3 separate regions of the Homo sapiens genome follow, and all the other regions are linked to region 1. The links are contacts of gene promoters, found by promoter capture Hi-C in blood cells and fetal thymus (Javierre and others, 2016). All regions are on one chromosome and are shown on one strand. The core of a region is centred on a gene start or on the middle of the fragment in contact, and the rest is flanking DNA. Distances in the headings are between cores, read along the strand shown.

Region 1 (4,227 bases), core at 835-3,334:
ACCCTAGAAGGAAAATGTATGTATATCTTTTCTTCAATATCTCTTTGTATACATGTGAGTGACTAAACAAGTTTTCTAAGGAAATTTTTGAAAGTGTTCACCTTAGACTTGGAGCAAGAATAATAGATACATTTTACCTTTAAAAGGCATTGTCCTGCTAATATTATATGAAATAAGTAGATAGATGTCTGCTTTGTGCTAAAATACACTTTGCCAAAAGATGGAGTTGGCTATGTTGATATTCACCTAGTGAGTATCATAGCTCTAGGGGCAGGACAAGTTAGAACAAGTTCTTAGTTTAAGCAGCCAGATATATGGATTAGATTTTTCATAAGAAAATGCTAGAGAGAAATGATATGATTTAGGGTTAAACAATATGACAGTTTGTCTGGGTTGTGTTTCTATGGTTTTGACTCAACAATTCCTACCAGAGGAACGAATCTCCAGAACTTTGGAAACTTACCCACAGGATGAGGGGACAGAATGACCAGTCATGGTTCCCTGTGTACTCACCATGTGAATCAGACCTTTGCCCTATCTGGTTCTGCCTCCGGTATTTTGCTTGTTATTTTCAACGCTAACTACAGACAAGAGAAAAAACTCCCAAGCATGAACCCAGCATGCTACAAGAAAGCCAACAACCAAGTCTGCATTCTACTCATGAGCAGGCAAGATTAGTGTTAGAAGGACTGTTATTTTCCTTGGGGTTTTAGCTTACGGCAGTTCCCAAAGGGTGTGGGTGTGACCTAGATTATCACTTTGAAGTACGATATTTAAAATGATTATTTTTGAGAAGGAGGGATCTCTTCTTATTATAAGACCAAGATGGTATGTAATACCCTCCAAAATAACCCAGTTACAATGAGAGTTTTAAAAAGGTTAATATTATACACTAAAAGATCTCAAAATATTACATTATTTTTTGGCAGATTACTTTGGTTTTGTAATTGTAAAAGAGGAACACATCTTTCATAATGAAGTGTGATGTAAGGAAAAAAAGTGAGTCACACTAGCAGGTTTACCATTTAAAAAATAACTAACTGGAAATATTGAATAGACTGTATGATTTAGTTAATTTCTGAGAAGTCTTATTTTTAACATTTCAATTAGAAAAAATAGTTTGCAACTCAAGGATAGTATTTTATCTGAATTAAACCTCCTCTCAGTTACATATGCCTTTAAGTAGCCAAGGTAAACCATATCCCAGGACATGATGAACAGAGAGAAAAAAAAATGAAGAGTCACATTCAATAGGATAAATAAGTCAAATATGAAGCAGAAAAAAGGTGAAAGTACAAAAACATACAAGAACTGATGATATTTTGAAAGTCATTTATAAGGCAGCAATAAAATTATATGACAAAAAGCACAAGGTGTTCATTTTTAGTTTTAGAAGATGAAGCTATGTAGACAATGGAATAAATAATATGTAACTAGGAGTCTCATAAAAATACTATACAACTAAAAATCTGGAACAGGAGTTTGCAGGAAGGGCTAATGAGGGAGCAAGTGCCTGGTGCCTTTGAATTAACCAATATATAAGCCAACACAAACATACTAACAAAACTGTATTGAAAATAAACTTGAAAAGAAGGTAGCATCTAACCAATCAAATAGGGTGCTTTCTAAACCCTCAGAATGATAAACTACATTGTTGGATGCAAAATTAGCATTTGCCCAGTTTATTTAATTCAGTATACTCTCCTATTAGTTATATTTACTTACCTGAAGTTAAAAAAAAAAAAAGCCATGACATTGCAAAGGGAATGTTCTCTAAAAGAAATAGATTTTCCTCTCTAGAGAAGCCCACCCGGACTCCACACCTGAGTTACCTTGAGTTTGTGGGCTCAGGTCGGTAGCTCCAACTGATGCCCTGAGCAGCCACGTAGAACTGCCTTAGCTGTGCCGCTTCTGTCCCTTGGCTCCCCCAGCCTACCCAGCTGGTGCCCAAGACCACCAGGACCCAGAGGCGTGGGCAGCCTGGGAACATGCTTCCTTTCCTGCTCCCGCTGGCTGCCACCACCCCAGGACCTGGGCAGCGCTTGCCGAGCTGCTAACCACACTCCGGGCTGTCCCAGCTGCAATGAGCTCTAGAGGCTGTGGGTGGCAGCGTCCTCCTCCCCTGCAGTTCTTGCAAACGGCAGCAGCAGCCTCTGGCTCTCACTCCCTCCGCTTTTTCTGGGGCTTTTCCTGGCAGGGGTTTGGTGAGATCACAGCTCCCAGTGACCAGAGGTATTAGGGAGAGCAACCAAACTAGTGACTGTTTTACTGCAGGTGAAGAAGGGGCAGAGATCAGAGGCTCTAGCAGGCGGGACAATGCCCAGGGATTCATGAGCCGGACAAAGCTGTATCCCTCCATTTCCACCTGCCAACACCACGGAAGCAGTCGTCCGTTACCACTGACCTGAGGCCTGCCTGGGTCCAAGCTCACACTTGGAGAACCTTCTGTGCAGTGCAGTGGCACCCAACCACCTTAAGCAGATGGCTCCCCTTTTAATCTGAGGAAAAGAGTATTGTGCCCTGTTACTGGGCACTGAAACACTATTTTCAAGTGGTGAAGAAGCAGGGAACAAACACATGGACAAGGCCTACTGCTCTGAATCGCCTTCCTGGCCTCTATCAAGGCACAGTTCTGCCTTGATAAGGGCCTGTCGCCAGCTAAGCTGCAGCATAGCAGCGGGCTTGAAGAGCTTGGCTGAAAAAAATCAGTTGTCCAGATTTCAGTTTCACTTACTAGCTGTGTTGTCTTGGGCAAGTTACTGTACCTCTCTGTTCAGTTTTGACATCTGTGAAATAAGGATGACAATAATAATTTTTCCTGATAGGGTATGTTGGGAGGATAAAATGCTACTGTAAACTATAGTTCCAGCACTTAACACACAGAGGCTAGGCGCAGTGGCTCACGCCTGTAATCCCAGTACTTTGGGAGGCCAAGGCGGGTGAATCACCTGAGGTCAGGAGTTCAAGACCAGCCTGGCCAACATGGTGAAACCCTTCTCTACTAAAAATATAAAAAATTAGCCGGGCGTTGTGGTGGACACCTGTAATCCCACCTACTCGAGAGATTGAGGCAAGAGAATTGCTTGAACCTGGAAGGTGGAGTTTGCAGTGAGCTGATATCATGCCATTTTACTCCAGCCTGGGCAACGAGAGCAAAACTCCATCAAAAAAAAAAAAGAAAGAAAGAAAAAGAAAGAAAGAGAAAAAGAGAGAAAGAAGGAATCACAAATTTATTATTATGATCATATTTTCCTGTCTCCAGGACCCCTTGTATTCTTGTTTTTCTTGAAGGATCTGACTGTTTCACAGCACCTTAAATCTTACTTTGCTATTGATAGAGAATCTGCGAATTATATTGTCTGAGGCATCATAATGACTTGTCCTGGGTTCCCTGTATCTGCATGGCTCCAGGTTTCTGTCTTATGCTTTATGCATTCAGTACATTCAATAAATTGTAATCTGGCACCTCACATGAGGTCTCTGTTAATGATATCAGGCTCATCAACAGCCTCTTCCTCCCTCCCCACTCCCCCCAATATTCTGTCTTTTCTCCTGTGCTGATATTATTGCACCAACTTAGAATGCCCATTTTCTTCCTCTTTGCTGGGCCATTCTTTACAGTCCAGAGTTCTGCCTATCTCCCAGATTCTGGGCTCAAATTGGCTTTTCCATTTTATGAACTATTACAACACTATTCAAATTATATAATCATGTTAATTACCTTTTGTTATTCCATGCAGGTATCTATTGTCTCCCTAACTGAACAGTTGCTTACACTTCTTTATCTACAATATTATCAGTGTCTCCCAAAGTTGGCAGACCATCAGAATTCCCAGGGGAACTTTTACAAAATGTAGATTCTGACTCAGGAAACAGGGTTGAGACCAAAGTCCTAGAACACCTAGCCTACTGATTGACATTTAAATAAGCAGTCAGAGATGCTACTGGCAGTGTATCAGAGAAACGTTTTGAAAGCACTGTGTCCCTAAATCCCAAGGTTACTACCAGAATTGTTGCAACATTATTGTAACCTTTGAGTAGGCTGCTTTTTTATTTGCATGTTTGCTTATGTATATACAGTGTACATGACATATTTATTTAATTACATTTTACAGAGACAAGATGACTACTATAATTTTTGGCTCTCTATTTTTTTTAACATCAGTTCCAGATAAATACTATATAACTTTCAATGACCTATTTATTAAACATGGGATTTAAAGAACA
Region 2 (4,227 bases), core at 832-3,331, 310 kb after region 1:
AGTCAACACAGCTACTTGCTGGCCCACCCTCTTCCCAGTGTCCTCACCTCTGAGTCTTTGCTGGCCTTCCCACCCTGTTCCTTGCTCCCTAATCTTATGTCCAGATGTGCTGAGCTCCAGGGTATCCTCTATAATCATTCATCAGCCTAGAGGACTCTGTATTTCCTTTCATTTCCCCAAGGTAAACCCACTCCTCCAAATATCAATGAGAAGGGAATATTTTGCAGTGAATGGAGTAGGAGAGAGATGGGAGGGAGTTTGACACTCAGTCCTTCCCCTCTTCACTCTTCATCTACTCACCTATTTGCTCTTGATGTCACTCAGGTCTCTGAACAAATGTCACCTGTTCAGACTCTTAAAGATTTGGGGCATTGAAATCACAGGCTAACTTGTATATTTTTGTCCAACAAAGATGCAAATCTTTCTGTCCAGTGGAAAAGTTAACCCCAAAGTTTATTCTTATTGCACTAGAGAGCATTTCTCATTTTAAAATCTAATCTAGTAATCTTACTGTATTTCTTTATAAAATTGCTTGTAAGTATGTAGCTACACAAATGCTCTTTGAACAGTCTTAATGTCTTTTTAGTTTCCTCATTAACTAATGTGTTCATTTTATATTTGCATGAGAGTTATAATTATATTTTGAAAATTCTACTTGAATGCAATTTATCAGAGACAGCTCCCCTGAAAACACTGTCTAAAACAGCACCTTACCTGCCTCTTCCTGTCTTTTGACTTTGCCTTATTTTGCTTAACACCAATGCACATATTTGTTCAGCATCTCTGTCCCACAGCTAGAACATCAGCTCCCTGAAAACAGGGCTTCCTTCCTTCATTTCTTTCTTTCCTGCCATATTTCTAGCACATAACACAGTGCCTAGAACATACTAGGTACTCAGTAAATATTAAACACACAAATGAATTTACTGAGAGCACACTGCATGTCCCAGGCACCCTCCCTACATCTCTCTGCCTCCCAGCCCTTACCCCACAGAGCCCTCTATAGCTCTGGTTCCAGTTCTCAGTTCCCTGGAGCTGCTCTCTGAGCTCCTTCTGCCTTTCTTATGCATAGAAATCTTGTATTCCCTCACTGATTCCTCAGTCCTCATTTTAAATATGTCTAAGGCCAGGAAAGAAAAGAATCTCCAACAACCTGAATCCGCTGTCCTTGGAATGTGGCTGGTGGGACAGTTAGAAACAAATAGTTTGTTTTCTTAATAGAAATAATTTTTTCTTGTCATACTGTTTAAGGATCAACCTGAATTTTACTTCCAACCAATCCTCTTCTTAATTCAAATCAAAACATGTCAATGGTATTCAGCTTGACTTTTAGGTGTTTTTTTAATTAATCTTTTTCATGTTTCTAACTTAGATTCCCAAGTAGACTATAAGTATCTTGGATATATTCCTGGTTCTATAAAAGCCTTAGCCATCCAACTTAATTATTTTTTTCCAACTTGATTTGAACTAACTTTTTTACAAGCTCTACCTGAAAACCAAAGAGAGTAAAAGTTATTCAAGTGATTTCTATTTAATGTTCTACCTCAATAATTTGTGTAATTGCATAATTGCAATTAGAATCTGGAAGTGTAAAGGGGGAAACTTGCATGAATGACAAACCCTCCTTCAGGCACATTTCAGATAAATACATATAGCATCCATAAGTAGTGGATACCTTATAGAAAACTGAACTGGACCTAAGCCACTTTGTTCTCTCGTTGTTTTTAGGAACTTTGCATAGATATTGGAAGATTTCTCTAATGAGAAGTATGTGTTTTCTAAGTTCCACCATAACCTTGCTACCACTACAAAGAGAGAATGAAAGCAAGTCTGAGGTGGGATTCTACACATTCACACGTTTATTAGCAAGGTTTAAAGACAGGCAGTAGAGCTGTTATACAAACTCAGTGAGGTTCCACTTCCTTGTGTAGGAGCTTGAATAGCATCTTGCATGAAAGGTCCATCCACTGCAGGAAGATGGGACAGTATTCTAATAGCAGACTCAGCTATCCTCATTAGAGCTGGGTGACAAAATCTTCTTGTAATCTTCTCCATATGGGGCTGGTCTGAAATCCTAAATCTAGGGCACCTTTCCAAAGTGTGTAGATTGCTAGACTCACTAGATTCTCATACTCTGATCATGTAAGGCATGGCAACATTTCTATTCATTCTGTCCATCTTGAAATTACTTATTTTGGCCATGAAAATTCACTTTTAAACATCCTTAAAGCCACTAGTATTGATCTGAGTTAGAGATAGCTGAAGTGTTTGTAGTATCTGCCCCAGGAGTATAGACTTCTCATTGAAATCTTTCAGATGCTAAAAGCCTCTGAAGTGTGAATTGCTTCTCAACTTCAAAGAGCCATGAATCATCTTGGAATCATACTCCTGGGAGAAAGATTTGGGGCAAACAATGTGTGCATTATATATCTACCTCTTCTTTGAAATACTTCAGCCTTCAGGGAGATACAGATGTGTACTAACTTAGATCTATCCTGTAGGGGTGGTTAATTAATATTTGAAGGCAACATGAGCATCCTCTGGAAGCATGTTAAAAATGCAAAAGCTGAGGCCTCACGCTAGATTGTCGAGTCAGAATCTACATTTTAACAGGATCTTTAGGTGATTTGCAGGCACCTTCCTTGCAGGAAGGTTTGAGAACTGCCCTAAATGATCTAAGGCCTCCCTCCTTTGGCCTCACTGCTATCCTCCTGCTCACTAACTCTGGTCCATGCTCAGTGGCCTCCTTGCTGTCCTGTCAGCATGCCAGGTGAGCTCTTGCCTTAGGACTTTTGCTCTAGCGCTTCCTTTTCCTGTCATTCTCTTTTCCCACATGTCCATTTGACTAAGTCTGTTACTTCTATTTTTTGTTCAGATCTCGTCTTCTCAATGAAGTCTGTCCTGATCCACCCTATCTAATTCTACAACGTTTACCTTCCTTCCTGCTACACTCCTGGTGCTTCCTATCCTGTTTTCTTTTGCTTTTTCCCTCCATAGCACTGACCGTCTTATAAACAGCCATATACTGTATTTTCTAGATTGTAAAAACTATAGTTTTTCACATTTTAACATCCCTGAAGGTCAGAATGCATTTTACCACAAATGGCATAATATAATTTGTCAATAATTTTTTCTTAGTGGTACCAAATATATTGATGCTTCCTAAATGTGATGGCATCATATATTTGATGAAATATGACAATTTGCTTATGTATTATGGCTTTTGGTTTTGAGAGAAAACAATTATCTGAAACTTTAAAATAGGCAAAAGAGGTTACTGTGGCTTTCTTCCCATGCAATTCTGGATTAAATTCCTATTGACTAGGTTATTTTACTACTTCTTTATTACCTTTTTAGGGGCAGAGGCTAACTTTTTCATTTTCATCCACTAGAGATGTAAATAAGTTTGTCCAGCACAGCAAATCATCTTAATGGTTACAGTTTATTGTCCTGTAAGTTATTAACCCAGCAACCTGAACCTGACATGTCTTTATCAAATTGCCTACATATACACCTATCTTCTCAGCTGCTATTTGGACTAGTTTAAAATCTTACTGATTCCCTCATTAATAAAAACATTAAATAGAGTCTTTGACATGTGTTCATTTTATATTTGCCTGAGAAACCTCATTGTACTTTTTTAAAAAAATTACATTTTAATGGTTTATTTCTCCCCTGCTAGAATGTTAAGTTTCACAAGGGAAAAAAATCTGTTTTTGTTCAATGATCTGCCATAAATGCTTAGAACAATGCTTGGAACATTATAGATGCTCAACAATTATTTACTGATGAATGAATGAATGGAAGTATAGAAAAATATATACTAGTCTGTTAACATTCACCATGTAAGGTAGGGAGAGGTTACTTTCTTTATATACCTTTTTATATATCTGCATATTGTTTTATGTGTTACAGTGAGCCTACATTGTTTTTGTTTATTTGTTTAAGAGACAGAGTCCAGGCTCTGTCACCCAGGGTGAAGTACAATGGTGCAATCATAGCTCATTATAACTTTGAACTCTTGGCCTCAAGCAGTCCTCCCATCCCAGCCCCTCAAGCAGCAAGGATTACAGGCATGTGCCACCACATCCAGATACATTTTTTAAATTATTTTTTGTAGAGACAGGGTTTTGCTGTGTTGCCCAGGCTGGTCTTGAACACCTTGCCTCCTGCTTCAACTTCCCAAAGTGCCGGGATTACATGCATGTATTTTTGTAATTTTAAAGA
Region 3 (4,227 bases), core at 1,197-3,696, 280 kb after region 1:
GGCTAGGTTTAGTAACTTTTTCAATTAACTTACAACTGTAAACCAGTGGACACACCTAGCTTCTTCACTATTAGAAGCCCTAATAAATCTGGCTACAGTTTCTAAATCCAAGCCTTCAAGACAATCAAGGATTTCTAAAACTTCCTATCTATAATAGGAAACTGACAGACAACCCAATTTCTTCCTCTATTTTCTCCTGTGGACATGATTCAATCTCTCCTAATAATTAACAACAGAAACTGCATCATTTGGTCCTCCAAAAACCCCCCACTGCCACTTATCCAAGGCACAAGAGCAGGCAGCAGTGTTCCGGAAGCAGCTGGCGTCACCACACCAGATGCCCTCACCTGAAGAAGTCATGAGATAGTAAGGTGCAGAGCGCTGGCCGACATTTTGGAATGGGATTCAGCAAAGTTGAGTGCAAGGTCTGTTGAAAGCTGGAGAGAACATCCGCTGAAACTGAAATCCAGAGCTACAGTTAGTTTCCAATGCCTTCTCCCTCTTTTCAGGACCTCTATAGCTGGAGACTGCCGAGAGCAAAAACCAACCTGTAAAAGCCCAAACAAACAAAGCCCTGGCTGTTGCTAAACAGCTTCCTGCTTGCCTTAGGCAAAACTCATTGGCAGGTGTAGAAAGTTGTCCTGCCACCACCATCAAACCCCACCCCAGGTGCCATTCCCTTCTATACCCTCTCATTTCCTGATTATCCATTTAACCCAGCTCAGGCCCAAAGAAGAAGGGCTAACAGTGATAGGTTTGAGGGTCTTTCTCAACAGGGGTTCCTCATCCACAGAACAGTTATATGAATGATTATATTTACAATTCTTCCAAGGATAGTAAATAATTGCTACCATTCTAAATACATAGAATAGTTAGTTCATTATACACAATGGATGCCTTTGGGCCTTAGGATTTAATTCTCAAGTATTTAGGATGGGACAATTTAGAGCTGACAGCTGAATCAGAACACTGCATAAGCCTGGCAGAATAAACCGCATTAGAACTGGCACAAAGCTTGAGCCATGTGAGATGTAGGCCAATAAGGGGCCTACTGTGACACATGCCTCAGTAAACTCAATGAGTGGAAAATTAAAGTCCTAAAGTGGGCACAGGAGAGTGAAGCAGGCTGCCAAGCATGCAGTTAGAGAACACAGAAGAGAGGAGAAAACAATGTCTTTAGCAGCCTGAGCTTTAAGAGGCAATGAAAGAAAAAAGTGAAGAGTAAATTAATAGGAAAATAAATCAAATGAGCTTTGAAAGAATAAAGAAATGTTGAGCTCAATTTAACAAAAAATTATGAATTTTACCCTATTATTCAGATTATTACATATAAATCATTAATGATAGTTATGTACTTATTGGCCGGTTCAATAAGGAATAGAGTCTACATTTAGACCGCTTAAGTACTATTACCAATTAATAAGGTAATCACACATGATACTGACAGCCATAGTTCAAAGTGCTTCCTACTTAAAATTCTTTTCACCATGCAAACTAATGAAACCCAAAGCTTCTTTCCTTACTGTTCTTAGTATCTGCCCTAAAAAAGTTACCTGGTAAGCAAAAGATTCCTTACTGTGCTCAAAGACTGTAGTCCTTTGAATTCCACACAGAATACGTCATGGATGATTTTCCTACTTATTCTATAGATGCAGTAGTATAACTCCAACTCACCCTGTTCATTTAAGATTGTGAGCAAACTTTCCACCAATGTTCCAAATGAAAAGGCATCCCGGGCATGTCCATGACACTCTGGGAGAGTTGTGAATTCTGGAGACTAAAAGCAGTGAAGACAATTAAAACTAGAGGATCTGCCTTATAAGCCATTTCTAATTTTCTCTGAAGCACCTTCTCCCATGTTTGTATTTATTATACTCAAATCTATCTTCAGACCACCACACATGAATGTATAGATTCTTAACACTATTAGTGAATAGAATTTGTTGAAGATTGTAAAACATTAAAATGAGCAAAAATTTTTAAAAAGGTTAGAATATGGCACATGTCGGTGGCTTTTACAAATATTTTCACAGCAATCCATGGTAAAGAATATGTCTTATATCATGCTCTACTATACATACACGTGCATAAATACACACATAATGGAAACAAAAGTTTCATAAAACAGTGCTTAGCCTTACTATCTAAGATGCCCAAAGACATGTTCTTTTATTCTTTTTTTTTTTATAAAATGCTAGTCAGGACCCCCTAAATTGACTTAAAACCCGCAAATCACCGATTTTAAAAACACTAGTATATATACATAATACTGATTTGGATAAATCTGATTTATTTCAAGTCTTAGGTCTATACTTAAGTTTATAGTTGAGTTCATATTTCCTGTAAAGCACACTAAATATATCTTTGGGGATTATTTATAGTGGCTATAAGAACAAATTTATAGAAGGAGCATCTGCTTTTGAATTTATTGGTAAATAGAATTTTTCTTTACCAGCACTCTTAATAATCATTCTTCTGTGCATCTTGAAATCCTAAGTAATGGGCAGCTAGAGATAGATGAATGGTTTGGGTGACATACAAGAAAGGACTAGGGTTTTTGCTTCCATAATTATTATGGATTCCAGCAAAGTGCAACTACTGATAATGGTTTCACTGTTTTCCCACCCAAATCTCATCTTGAATTATAACTCCCACAATTCCCACGTGTCCTGGGAAGAACCAGTGGCAGGTGACTGAATTATGGGGGGCAGGTCTTTCCTGCCCTGTTCTCATGATAGTGAATGGGCCTCACAAGATCTGATGGCTTTAAAAAAGGGGAGTTTCCCTGCATAAGCTCTCTTCTCTTGTCTGCCACCAGGTGAGACGTGCCTTTTGCCTTCTGCCATGATTTTAAGGAACTCCCCAGCCACGTGGAACTTTTGTAAATTGCCCAGTCTTGGGTATGTCTTCATCAGCAGCGTGAAAACAGAGTAATACAGTAAATTGGTACCAGTAGAGTGGGGCGTTGCTGAAAAGATACCTGAAAATATGGAAGGGACTTTGGAACTGGGTAACTGGCAAAGGCTGGAACAGTTTGGAGGGTTCAGAAGAAGACAGGAAAATGTGGGAAAGTTTGGAATTTCCTAGAGACTTGTTGAATGGCTTTGACAAAAATGCTGCTAGTGATATGAACAATAAGGTCCAGGCTGAGGTGGTCTCAGATGGAGATGAGGAACTTGTTGGGAACTGGGGCAAAGGTGACTCTTGTTATGTTTTAGCAGAGACTGGTGGCATTTTGCCCCTGCCCTAAAGAACTGTGGAACTTTGAACTTAAGAGAGGATTTAGGGTATCTGGCGGAAGAAATTTCTAAGCAGCAGAGCATTCAAGAGGTGACTTGGGTGCTGTTAAAGGCATTCAGTTTTAAAAGGAAAACAGAGCATAAAAGCTTGGGAAGTTTGCAGCCTGACAATGCAATAGAAAAGAAAATCTCAGGTGACATTCAAGGCAGCTGCAGAAGTTTGCATAAGTAATGAGGGGCCAAATGTTAATCCCCAAGAAAATGGGGAAAATGTCTCCAGGGCATGTCAGAGATCTTCATGGCAGCCCCTCCCATCACAGGCCTGCAGGCCTAGGAGGAAAAAGTGGTTTCATGGGCGAGGCCCAGGGTCCCCATGCTGTGTGAAGCCTAGGGACTTGGTGCCCTGCATCTCAGCCGCTCTAGCCATGGCAGAAAGGGGCCAACGTAGAGCTCAGCATGTGGCTTCAGAGGGTGCAAGCCCCAAGCCTTGGCAGCTTCACATGGTGTTGAGCCTGCAAGTGCACATTAGTCAAGAACTGGGGTTTGGGAACCTCCACCTAGATTTCAGAAGATGTATGGAAATGCCTGGATGCCCAGGCAGAATTTGCTGCATGGGCAGGGCCCTTATGGAGAACCTCTACTAGGGCAGTGTGAAAAGGAAATGTGAGGTCGGTGCCCCCACACAGAGTTCCTACTGGAGCACTGCCTAATGGAGCTGTGAGAAGGAGGCCAGCATCCTCCAGATCCCAGAATGGTAGATCCACTGACAGCTTGCACCACGTGCCTGGAAAAGCTGCAGACATTCAAGACCAGCCTGTGAAAGCAGCCAGGAGGGAAACTGTACCCTGCAGAGCCACAGGGGTAGAAGCTGCCCAAGACCATGGGAACCCACCGCTTGCATCAGCGTGACCCGGATGCGAGACACGGAATCAAAGGAGATCATTTTGGAGCTTTAAGATTTGACTGCCTCACTGGATTTCACACTTGC

What was found. Contacts are between HindIII fragments. The CHiCAGO score rates a contact against its expected background, and 5 or more counts as called.
Region 2: a fragment that was not itself captured here is called in contact with the fragment with the promoter of F5 in region 1 in 1 of 17 cell types (neutrophils); the score reaches 6.8 in neutrophils.
Region 3: a fragment that was not itself captured here is called in contact with the fragment with the promoter of F5 in region 1 in 1 of 17 cell types (neutrophils); the score reaches 5.9 in neutrophils.

The regions. Positions count from the first base shown.
Region 1 is chr1:169,584,397-169,588,623 of GRCh38, forward strand. F5 (coagulation factor V) reads right to left here and starts at 2,085. Exons shown (of 25, transcript NM_000130.5): 1 at 1,833-2,085. The coding sequence starts at 1,990. RefSeq lists enhancers at 1,559-2,060, 2,061-2,560. The HindIII fragment of the contact is 11,391 bases long and covers 1-4,227 here.
Region 2 is chr1:169,897,323-169,901,549 of GRCh38, forward strand. No RefSeq gene overlaps it. Among named protein-coding and RNA genes, the nearest start is that of SCYL3, 5.5 kb to the left of the region's middle. The HindIII fragment of the contact is 5,358 bases long and covers 1-4,227 here.
Region 3 is chr1:169,868,581-169,872,807 of GRCh38, forward strand. SCYL3 (SCY1 like pseudokinase 3) reads right to left here. Exons shown (of 13, transcript NM_020423.7): 6 at 1,675-1,777; 7 at 348-459. Among named protein-coding and RNA genes, the nearest start is that of SCYL3, 23 kb to the right of the region's middle. The HindIII fragment of the contact is 1,876 bases long and covers 1,509-3,384 here.